Regions from separate parts of the Homo sapiens genome. Here region 2 is linked to region 1. The links are contacts of gene promoters, found by promoter capture Hi-C in human tissues and cell types (Jung and others, 2019). All regions are on one chromosome and are shown on one strand. Each heading gives the region's core, a stretch centred on a gene start or on the middle of the fragment in contact. The rest is flanking DNA. Distances are from core to core; before and after follow the strand shown. Region 1 holds the start of MNX1 (motor neuron and pancreas homeobox 1). Region 2 overlaps NOM1 (nucleolar protein with MIF4G domain 1).

Evidence for each region. Contacts are between HindIII fragments. The study calls those that stand out against the background at their distance.
Region 2: a contact is called between a fragment that was not itself captured here and the fragment with the promoter of MNX1 in region 1, in 1 of the 25 tissues and cell types used here (adrenal gland).

The regions. Positions count from the first base shown.
Region 1 is chr7:157,009,396-157,014,870 of GRCh38, forward strand. It overlaps MNX1 (motor neuron and pancreas homeobox 1), which reads right to left and starts at 1,268. Exons shown (of 3, transcript NM_005515.4): 1 at 265-1,268. The coding sequence starts at 955. It overlaps MNX1-AS1 (MNX1 antisense RNA 1 (head to head)), which reads left to right and starts at 1,462. Exons shown (of 2, transcript NR_038835.1): 1 at 1,462-1,912. RefSeq lists silencers at 430-479, 490-559, 1,070-1,679. The HindIII fragment of the contact is 12,613 bases long and covers 1-5,011 here.
Region 2 is chr7:156,965,660-156,971,367 of GRCh38, forward strand. NOM1 (nucleolar protein with MIF4G domain 1) reads left to right here. Exons shown (of 11, transcript NM_138400.2): 8 at 611-743; 9 at 1,302-1,433; 10 at 3,428-3,537; 11 at 3,870-5,708. The coding sequence ends at 4,044. Among named protein-coding and RNA genes, the nearest start is that of NOM1, 19 kb to the left of the region's middle. RefSeq lists a silencer at 2,671-2,862. The HindIII fragment of the contact is 5,101 bases long and covers 1-3,971 here.

The sequences.
Region 1 (5,475 bases), core at 18-2,517:
CTCAGTCTCACACCTCCAACTGCCCCTTCCCGTTAAGAGAGGAAGAGAAGGCAAGGCCTGCGCATGGCCATTTTAATAATTCGCTGCCCGTCTCATGCCTGGGGGTCCGGGCGAGTCCTCGCAGGCCCCGGGCAGAGCCGAGGCGGCTTCGCAGCTCTTCCCCCGCTCGCTGGGAGCCAAGCGCAGAGAGGGGCAGGCGGTGCCGGTGGAGGATGCGCGAGGCCCTCCCGCCACGCGCATCCACGGGGGCCGCAGGGTACTCACAGTTGAAGTCGGGCATCTTAGGCAGGATCATGCCCGCGGTGGACGCGCGCAGCCACTGGTCCAGCTGGAAGGTGCCGGCGCCCAGCTTGATGGGGTCGGCGGGGTGCGCGGGGTGCGCGCCTTGCACCTGCGGGTACGAGTAGGAGAGCGCCGGGTGCTGGCCCGCCAGCGCAGCCGCCGCCGCCGCCGCGGAGTAGCCGTAGACCGGGTGGCCGTAGAGCGCCGCCTGCGCCGGGAGGCCCGCGCCGCCCTGCGCGCCCCCAGGGTGCAGCCCCAGCGCCAGGCCCCCAGCGGCGGCGGCGGCGGCGGCGGCGGCGGCAGCGGCCGCTGCGCCCGGATGCGCGTGGTGGTGGGGCCCCCCGTGCCCGCCGCCCGTGCCGCCGCCGCCGCCGCCCGCGCCCAGGAAGCCCGGCTTGGGCAGCAGCGCGCAGTGCGCGGCCAGCAGGCGCGGCGGCGACGGGCTCTCGGCGCGCAGGCGGTCGGCGGGCGCAGCCGGCGGCTCCGAGGACGCGGGGCTGCAGCTGCCGCTAGTCCCGCCGCTCGCCCCGCCGCCGCCGCCGCCACCTCCGGTGCCAGATGCGGCGGCGGCGAGCGACGTGACCAAGGCCAGCGGCGCGCTCTGCGCAGAGGCGGCTCGTGGGGGGTCCACCGCCAGCAGGGCGTCGATGCGGAAATTTTTGGATTTTTCCATCGGCTCGTTTGGGGCTGGCGCTCAGGGCCCGGTGGCGGGCGACGCGGCCGTGTGCGGGCTCGCGGAGTCAGTGCGTGCGGTGCAAGCCCGGGGGCTCGGTATTGTTATGGTGGTTATTTGCCAATAATCAAAGTCGCCGCCGGAAACTCAGCCGAGGGTGACCATGGTCCCGGCGCCTCCTCCGTGCGGGCCCCGCCCCGGGCCGCGCTCGCACAAACTCCCACGCGAGTGCTTCCCCGCGTCCGGGCCCGGGAGCCCGGTTCTTTGCGCTGCAGCCCTCAGGCGACCGCGCGGAGGCCGCTGCCGCCGTGGTGGGGACCCGCGCCCCTCCGCGCACTTGAAGCTCAGCGCGGCTTCCGATTGGCGCGCGCAGCGGGGGCCCGGGGAGGGCCGCGGGCTCCGCCATTGGCCGAGGGGCGCACCTGTCACCGTCCCGGCCGCCCGCCGCCCCGCCCCCGCGCCGCGAGGTCCTAAGCAGCCCGGGCTGTTGCGCGGCGCTGGCGGGCGGGGACACCAACGGGGAGTGGATACTCCGAGGCTCAACCTGGGGCCTCTGCCCGCCCTCCCCTGGGTGCGGAGCCGGACGGCGGGCACTGGCAACCCCCGGGCCCCTGGAGAGCCCCGCGGCGGCCCAAGACCCGCTCCCGAGACACGTGGGCCCCTCCGGACTTGGTTGGTCCCTGGAGCCAGCTGCGCGCGTCCTCTCCGGCCTCCTTGTCGGCGCTGGAGTGGGTCCACGTCTGCCTTGCGGAGCGCGGTGGTTCCACGCTCCTGAGCGCCCACGCTGCGCAGACCTGGCCGCTCTGCGAGGCGACGGCAGCGCACTGAAGACCGTGGTGTTTCCCAAGCCCTCCCTGCTCTCGGGCCTCCAGGGCGCAGCAGGGGAGGGTTTTGTCCCCGTGGCCAAAGCTCTGCAGGTCGAACCTTATCTGCTATGGGAAGGCCCCGCATTTTCAGGTGTGTGTGCGGGGGTGTGGGGGTGTAAACGCGCATGTGAGTGTGAGTTTGGCCTCCACGAATCCTCTCTGGGAGCCCCTGCCCCAGTCAAGGCGGAGACGGTAGATCTGGGCGCTCTGGCCTGCAGAACCCAAGTCGGCTTGCAGACGTCGCCCACGTGCCTGCTCAGTGGAGCGGGTCCTCGGTGACAAGGCTCTTCCTCGCTGCCGAGGGATGCCCATGGGCTTGCGGGAGTCAAGGCCCACACACCTCGGCCCTGAAAAACCCGTGGGGCCCGGCATCCTTCGGAAGCCCTGCCGCTGCGACCCCCGGCCAGTCCCCGGGCAGGAGCGGGGAAAGGCTATGTCTCTCGTGCTGCCGGGGCCTCCTGGGAAGTGGAGAGGAAAGGGCTTCCCGTGAGTGAGCGAGGCACGGAGTGAGCATCCAGGTCTCACCCCTCCCCCACACGCACACTTCAAATATTTACAGTAAAACCACTTCCAAGGGCGTTTTTGAAGCTGAAAGAATCCACACAGGGGTCGGGAAGTCAAGCGGCATCAACACCAGGCTTTGTCAATAGCGCCATTAGACCCAGTTATCTTCCCCAGCAAGCGTGAGAACTGGGAGGGAGTTCCAGGTTCCAGGGCTTGCTATGCAGGTGAGAGGTGAATAAAGGACCGGAAGGGGCTGTGGAGAGGGGAGAGAGCCAAAGAGAAACTCAGTGCCAGGTAAACTTCAAAATTAGCACGCCAGGTTGCTACAAGAGGGATTTTTAAAAAGGCAAATATAGAGACCTTGCCACTTCTCCTCAAAAGGCTTTTGACCTAGGCGAGAGTTGATGACAGTGACTCTGTTGCCATGAGTGGTATCGTTTTCATTATAACACAGGGTAGTTCCCAGATGCACAGGACTGGTTGGAAGGTTAGGAGGATGGCAATGGATGAGTAACTGCAACTTGGAGTAAATGTGATCTGGCTTTGCAGAGCCGACCACTGGTAAAAAGAAATCCCAGGCATTCACATGGAGTTTGTCGTGCCTTTAGATGTCTTTGTGGTGACACAAATGCAGTTCTACCTCTCACTGGAGAGAGGGAAACACGCGCATTTCTTGAACACCTACTATGTGCTATGAGCTTTCTGCAATTCTCATCCGTAATCTTCACTATGACACTAGAAGGAAGATTTTTATCATCTCCGTATCTCCATTTTCTTTTCTTTCTTTTTTTTTTTTGTATTTTTGGTAGAGACGGGGTTTCACCGTGTTAGCGAGGATGGTCTTGATCGCCTGACCTCCTGATCCGCGCGCCTCGGCCTCCCAAAGTGCTGGGATTACAGGAGTCAGCCACCGCGCCAGGCGCCCCCCACTTTTTTTTTTTTTTTTTGAGATGGAGTTTTGTTCTTGTTGCCCGGGCTGGAGTGCAATGCCATGATCATGGCTCACTGCAACCTCCATCTCCCAGGTTCAAGCGATTCTTCTGCCTCAGCCTCCCCAATAGCTGAGATTACAGGCATGTGCCACCAGGCCAGGCTAATTTTTGTGTTTTTAGTAGAGATGGGGTTTCACCATGTTGGTCAGGCTGGTCTCGAACTCCCGACCTCAGGTGATCCACCCACTTCAGCCTCCCAAAGTGCTGGGATTACAGGCATGAGCGACCGTGCCCGGGCTATCATCTCCATTTTCTAGAGTACAAGTTCAGAGAGTTTGGGATCCTTGTTCCCAGCAGACAGTTTGGCCTTAGAGCTGGGAGTGGGACCAGGTCTGATTGCAGAGGCCACACTGTTCCCACCCTGCTGCCCTCAAAGCTTTCAGGTACACCTAGCCCTGAGTCCCCATCCCATCTGTTTCTTTTTGGGGAGGGAAGGATTGTAAAGGAGACCAGAGATTCTTAGCCACCTGTCCCAGGCAGGAAGCCCTAGCTGTGACTCTGCCTCCCCAGGGTAGAGAACACAGCCTTGGCCTCCTCCTCCAGGGGTTTGGCACCAAGGCTGACTTGCCTTTCTCTTCTCATCACCCCCATCTGCTGGGGGCAGATTGCTTGGTCCTGAGGTCAATGATTTAGGGAGCTGGGGGAAGGGAGTGGCTGCAGAAGAAATCTCCCAGGATGGACCTTGGAGAAGATGCTGTTCCTCTCTCCAACCAAAAATACACACTGCCAGGGTGATTTTAGTTGGTGATGGGGTGTGTAGTCTAGACTCATGACATCAGCCATCTCCTTCAACAAAATCACAGTGGGTGTTTTCTGGCTTTTTTTTTTAACTCCTAGAGGAATTAATTTCACCCCTTTTTGTTCTGTAATAACCATGGTCCAAAACCCCTTCACACCCTGTCTCATGTTTCTATTCTGCCTGAGACCTGCTGAGGACACCTCCCTGAAAACACAGACAGGACAACACGTGTGCAGGTCCTTCAGGTGTCTGTACCACCTGTGGGGCTGTGCAAGGCTGTCCGAGGAGGCCTAGCCTAGCAGCCCTGCGTCCTGTCCGGACCGCCCCTCTGGCTGAGGTGCCATTTCAGGAATCTGAAGCTCCTTATCTCGATGGATTTGTTTCTTTGTCTACAGAAGCAGGGGTTGGACCAAATGGACTCTAAGGAGCTATAGGGCCTTAAAATGATCAGATGTTCTGCTTATATTTAAGAATATGTTAATATAAAAAGGAGGTTCTCTGTAAAGCTGCATGGAGAGAGGCAGGTGTGGGGGAGAGAGGGAGCTATCTGGGAAGTGTGGATCTTTGTGTGGTTTACAATGTGTGAGGCGGAGCCTGCTGGGTCTCTTCCTGTTCCCAGTATCTGTATTGATCCAGCCCAGCTGGCTTTGGGGCAGTCTGGAGCTGGGCTTGGGTCTTGGGAAGGGCCACAAAGAGAGATCAAAGGTCTGATCCTAGTAGTGCTACCAAACCTGAGTCTCCAGGTGAGTTTTCTCTCCAGCGGCCCCAGGGGCAGAACTCAGCCCTGGAGAGTTCTCCCTGGAGCTCTTGGTTTCTCAAGACAGGCAGAGAGGGCCTGGTGCACCCTAATCAGCTGGCCCCCACCACAGCTCCTCCCTGCCCAGCGCGGGAGCCTGCTTTCTACAGGCCTCCTGTTAAGGAACTGAAGAGTGCCTGCAGCTGCCCTTCCTTCCACTACTTGGGAAGGAGATGGTGATTTCTACAAACCATCACAAAAGAAAACGCCGTTGTAGTCTGTGTCTGTTTACATCTGGACTTACACACACAACTGGGAACCCGTGAGGACTGGGGAAAAAACCTGTACATTCACATATTCACAAGATGCGAGGCAGGTATCATGCATTTATTTATCATTTAGATATTGCTTTTTTTCCATGTGAAATGGAGCAGTTGCCTGGAAGGGCACTGGGTGGCTGAAGCAGGGGGCAGATCTTGCATTTCCAAAACTGAAGCCCAGGGCCAACAGAGAGGACTTGGCTGCAGAGGGGCCCAGGCACATTAGTCCTGTCCTGCTGAAGCCATGTGGTCTTCGGGGACTCATGCAGTTCCGTTTCAATGTAAACTGTCAAGGCTTTCTTCAGGAAACAGGCATGAAGATGCTGTGTAACTGGCCGGAGGGACCTAAGCACGAGTTTGAGA
Region 2 (5,708 bases), core at 171-2,670, 44 kb before region 1:
AATCCCAGCACTTTGGGAGGCCAAGGTGGGTGGAACACCTGAGGTCAGGAGTTCGAGAGCAGCCTGGCCAACATGGCAAAACCCCATCTCTACTAAAAACACAAAAATTAGCTGGGGGTGGTGGTGGCACCTGTAATCCAGCTACTCGGGAGGCTGAGGTACAAGAATCACTTGAACCGGAGAGATGGAGGTTGTAGTGAGCTGAAGTCATGCCACTGCACTCCAGCCTGGGTGACAGAGCAAGACTGTCTCAAAAAAAAAAGTAAGAAAATGTGAAGTCATCGCCATAGCAGGAACCAGCTCTAAGGGCACACACGATTGAGTCAGTTTATTGTCAGCCGGGCACAGCTGTCGACTTTTGCAGCGACGGGGGACCCCCTAGATGGTCTTGTCTCCTCTGACATTTTGCCACATTGTAGGAGAACCTGAGGACCAGAGAGGTTGTGACAGGGCTGGGCCCCTAGCTGGTGTCTGCCGCTGCCTCCACCTCCTTTACGTGGCTCGCCTCTAACCAGACCCTTCCAGGCGGGAAGATGTTCCCCTGAAAGGTATCAGCCATTAAACTTTGGAAGTCGAGTGATGTTCCAGTCATTGCTGTTCTGTTTTCTAGGCTTGGACTTAAGGATCAGCAGGAGAGAGAAATCATTCACGTTCTCATGGATTGCTGCCTTCAAGAGAAAACTTACAATCCCTTCTATGCTTTCCTGGCTAGCAAATTCTGTGAATATGAAAGGAGATTTCAGGTAGCTTAGTGCGGAGGCACCAGTTACGTCCGCTCTACTATTTTTTCTACACAGGCTACCTGGCTCAACCCACCTGCAAAGGAGTTCCCCAAGTCAGGAGGCCCCTGATATCCCCGTCACCTGGTCCACGCTGGCTGCCAGGCCACCTTCACTGGGAGCGGAAGTGGGAGGGCTAGAGGGGAGTGTCAAGGGTCCACCATGTCCTCATGTCACCTGCTTCTGCCACAGATGCAGGCAGTGTGGCCAGGCCAGCAGGAGCACCTCGTCGGTTCACAGTGCACCAGTCTGTTCTGATGCCCCTTGCTGTGGCCTTTTCCTTAGAATGTTCTGTTAGTATCTGCTGATTTGGGGGGAAGAACTGCACCAGAAGGAGATTCTTGTGAAGCTGTTTGGGACTATGCTCTATAGGCAAGAACAGTGAGGCCACCACTAAAAGTCTTGATGTTTAGAATATTAAAAATAAGATAATAAGAAAATACCTTTAGGTTATGTTGTTAGTGATATATTATAGTAATTTGTGGCCGTTTGCCTTTTTTCTCCTTTTAACTATGATACTAGATGACTTTCCAGTTCAGCATATGGGACAAATTTCGGGACTTGGAAAACTTGCCAGCTACGAATTTCTCTAATTTGGTTCATCTGGTGGCCCACTTGTTGAAGACAAAATCGCTTTCCCTTTCCATCTTAAAGGTTCGTGTAACGTGTGAAAATATTGAAAGCAATGGAAATGGGAGTGTAATTGTTTAGTACCTGGTAAATCAGGTCCTGTTTTACCAGCGTATTTTCTTCGATTCTGATTCATCTGAAAAGTGCTTGCATTATCCTAGCCAGGACAGAAAACGGCCAGACTAACATGTGCTACAAATTGATCTGGTAAATGAAGGCACCGCTGCAGTTCTTTTGCTAATCTGAATGAATGTGTTTTGGAGCTTGAGGTTAATTTGCTGGTCCTAATTATAAAATCCTGAACTGGTCACTGTTAGTGAGGAGAAGGGCGGATGAAGTAGGGCCTGGTCTCCTTAGAGGTGAGGTGAGTTTGCTCACGTTGATGTAAGGTGTTTTAAAACTGTAGGCTTTCTCCTGCCCTGCTGTGTTTTGGGACTTTGCAGTGGACCATGAAACACAGACATCTTTTTTCTTCCCCCCCCAAGATGGGAGTTGCTCTGTCACCCAGGCTGGAGTGCAGTGGTGCAATCTCTGCAACCTCTGCCTCCGGGATTCAAGCGATTCTCCTGCCTCAGCCTCCCAAGTGGCTGGGATTACAGGCTCATGCCACCACGCCCAGCTAATTTTTGTATTTTTAATAGAGACGGGATTTCACCATGTTGGCCAAGCTGGTCTGGAACCCCTGACCTTGTGATCTGCCCTCCTCAGCCTCCCAAAGTGCTAATATTACAGGTGTGAGCCAGTGCGCCCAGCTGAAACCTAGACATCTTACCAGGTGGAGTTGGGGTTAGATGTGGGCCTGTAAGGCTTGGATGGTGGGACCAACAGACTCTGAATAGCCAAAAAAAAAAACTGGAGCGCCTGGGGGGCAAAGGGAAGTGAAAAGCAGAGATAGTTGAGGGGCGTTGACTGCAGTGGCCCAGACCCACAAGACAGCCGCAGCCACAGCTTCCCGTGTGTTTCTGTGTGTCGTGTGCAGTTCATCAGCATGCCGGCTCCAGTTCACCCTGCGTCCCTTGCTGTGTGGTGTCCAAGTTTGGCCACTGTACTGAAAATGAGGGCACCGAGCCTTACGCCAAATCCTGACAACTGGAATAACTTAGCTCATGGAGGAGGCGTTGCTCCCCCTCCGCTCCCCTGCCTTGCCTTTCGCTCGCCCAGGCATTGCGCTCATCCTGGAACAGCACAGATGCTACCACCGATGAGCGGGAGAGGCGTGGCAGGAGCACACCCTCAGGCGTAGAGCTTTAGAGATGCCCCCCGCCCTGCCCCTCCGGGCTGCTCTCATTCCGAGTTTCTCTGTGTTTCGACCATGCTTTTGTGGTCTCGCCGCGTCCTCGGGTCCGCAAGCGCCTGTGATGGTGTTTGGCTGCGCACCTCCCTGTGGGTAGCATTCCCGTCACCATGCGTTTAGTCCCCTCCTCTAGCTCGCTGACATTCAGCTAAGATTGCAGTGGGTCCACGTTGGCGCCCGTGAGTCTGTTCTGGGTAGCATCCTACTGTATACGTATGCCTCAGTTTATATACTTACTTATCCTACTGATCCGTGTTTATTTCTGATTTTTTGATAGTTTTCTAGGGCAGAGATATATATGGATTAGTCTTCTAGAAGTAAATTTTATATATATATATATATATATATATATATATATATATATATATATAGTTTTAATTAGGGGATGGGTACTTTTGGGAATGGAGGTAATTTATGGTTCAGTTCTAGATACTGAATTTCTGATTCATAAGGTGTATGACCCGGGAATTCCACTTACACTGCTGAGTTGTTCTCAACGGTGGCTGTGGCCGGCCACACCTCTGCCAGCAGTGTGTAGGAATTCCCAAGGCCCACATCCTTGCCAACAGGTGTTCATTTCTTAGCTCTGGAAATAGCTTCTTAAATCGGGTAGAGTGGGGGAAGGGGGGAGATTAATTTTTACTCTAATTAACTATATTACAAATCATTGAAAAAGTTGGCTAAATCAGTGTAACTTTATTTTTCTCCATGTCCTGACCATTAGGTAGTTGAATTCAGTGAATTGGACAAACCCAGAGTCCGTTTTTTACGAAAAGTATTAAGTATCCTATTAATGGAAACAGAAGTTGAAGACCTCAGTTTAATTTTCACAAGGTATGTGCCCCACCCTTTCCGACGAGACATGGAAGAGAAATGAAGAGATTGTTTTCACTTGTGTTGATTTACAAACACAAGGTTGTACTATACGTGTAGCTTAATCTTTTCGGTTTTATTTTTAAGCTGGTATGCATTAGATCTGGGGAATAGAAACTTGTCTGCTAGCAAACTAACAATGATTGTTAATAATAAAATATGTTAAGAAGTTCTTAATTGAGAATTTTATTTTTAAAAGAAACTGGTTATGTCTCACTATGCGAGATACCCAGGATTGAGATCTAGGAGAGGCCAGCTCAGCCCTGACATGTGTTTATACGATTCCTTTCCAGAGTATCTGACAACCCAAAGCTGGGGGTGTTACGTGAGGGTTTGAAGCTTTTCATCAGCCACTTCTTGCTAAAGAACGCACAGGCCCACAGAAGCGCCGACGAAGCCAACGTGCTGAGAGAGAAAGCTGACCTTGCAACGAAGTGTCTGCAAGGAAAAGCTTCCCTGAGAATGTAGTCAGGGAAGGAAGGAGGGCAGGTGGCCCTTTGACTGTAAAATGTCCTTGGTAAACCCAAAGGCTTATTCTGTTGCCTGCGTGTGAATGTTTGGTAGAGCTATATCATTGTCTGTTAATGTATTATATTTTGAGATTTTTTTTGATCTAAGGTTTTATTGTTTGTATTTCAAGCCATTTTCAAATAACTATCTTGGGGGTGAGAGGAGAAGGAGGGAGGGAAAAGGGGTCAGGCACACTGGACAGGGTTCTCTAAGCAGTGAGGCTGGTGTGTATGATTGTCTTAAAATTTTTTAATAGATATGGCCGAGCGTGATGGCTCACCCCTGTAATCCCAGCACTTTGTGAGGCCAAGGTGGGCGGATCACTTGAGGCCAGGAATTTGAAACCAGCCTGGGCAAAACCCTGTCTCTACTAAAAATATAAAAATTAGCCAGGCATGATGGCACATGCTGGTAATAGCAGCTACTGAGGTGGCTGAGGCACAAGAATTGCTTGGACCCTGGAGGTAGAGGCTGCAGTGAGCCAAGATTGTACCACTGTACTCCAGCCTGGGCTGGACAGTGAGACTTTTGACAGTGAGACTGTCAAAAAAAAAAAAAAAATTAATAGATAAAACAGGCCACTAGAGGGTGCAGTTATAAAGAAATTGATGAGGTTTTTACCTTTTTAAAATATTGGTTAGAAGTTCAAAAACCATCCCTTAAAGGTGATTGTTTTTTTGAGACAGAGTCTTGCTCTGTCACCCAGAGTGGAGTGCAGTGTCCTGTAATCTCAGCTCACTGCAACCTCTACCTCCCGGGTTCAAGCGATTCTCCTGCCTCAGCCTCTTTAGCTGGGACTACAGGCGCACGCCACCACGCCCGGCTAATTTTTGTATTTTAGTAGAGATGGGTTTCACCATGTTGGCAAGGCTGGTCTTGAACTCCTGACCTCAGGTGATACACCCATCTCGGCCTCCCAAAGTGCTGGGATTACAGGCTTGAGCCACCACGCCCAGCTTAAATGTGATTCTTGATACTGTTTTAAGTATTTAGGTTGCAATTAACTTTGGCAAAGTCAGTCGACATAAGCCCTGTGGATATGGCCTTATGTACACTGTAATGCAGACAGGTGCTTTTCATCATTCATGTAACATTCTCACACAGTTGAGGATATTCATCTCCTCACCAATTCCAGATTGTAAATGTACCATCTTAAACAACTCTGAGGTCACCAAACAGTAGTTATTTGACTGTTAATAGGTGCTACTTGCTTGCAAGGATTTGGAGATGTAAACATGAAGAAAATATAGTTACTGCCTGCAAAGAATTAACATCCGTCTAGTGGGAGAAACAAACACACCCCACTCACTAAGTATGGAAAACTGATTCTGGGAGGAAGCAGAAATGTCCCTAGATAACAGCATGTATTGCAGATACCCAAATGTTTATTGTTTTCTCAGCCCTTCAATTTTGCTTTTCTCTCTCAAATGCTACAGACTCAATTTAAATCTTACCTTTGATTGTTGAAAAAAGTCACTAAGATGTGAATACAGAATAGACATTGAGAGGTTATATATGTCCAAAACTCATCTGTCCAGCAGTCACCGTCCTCTTCAGAGTGGTCACGTTGGGCAGATGGGCACAGGTGCTGGTGATGCCTCTCCTGGGCAAAACGCCCCATT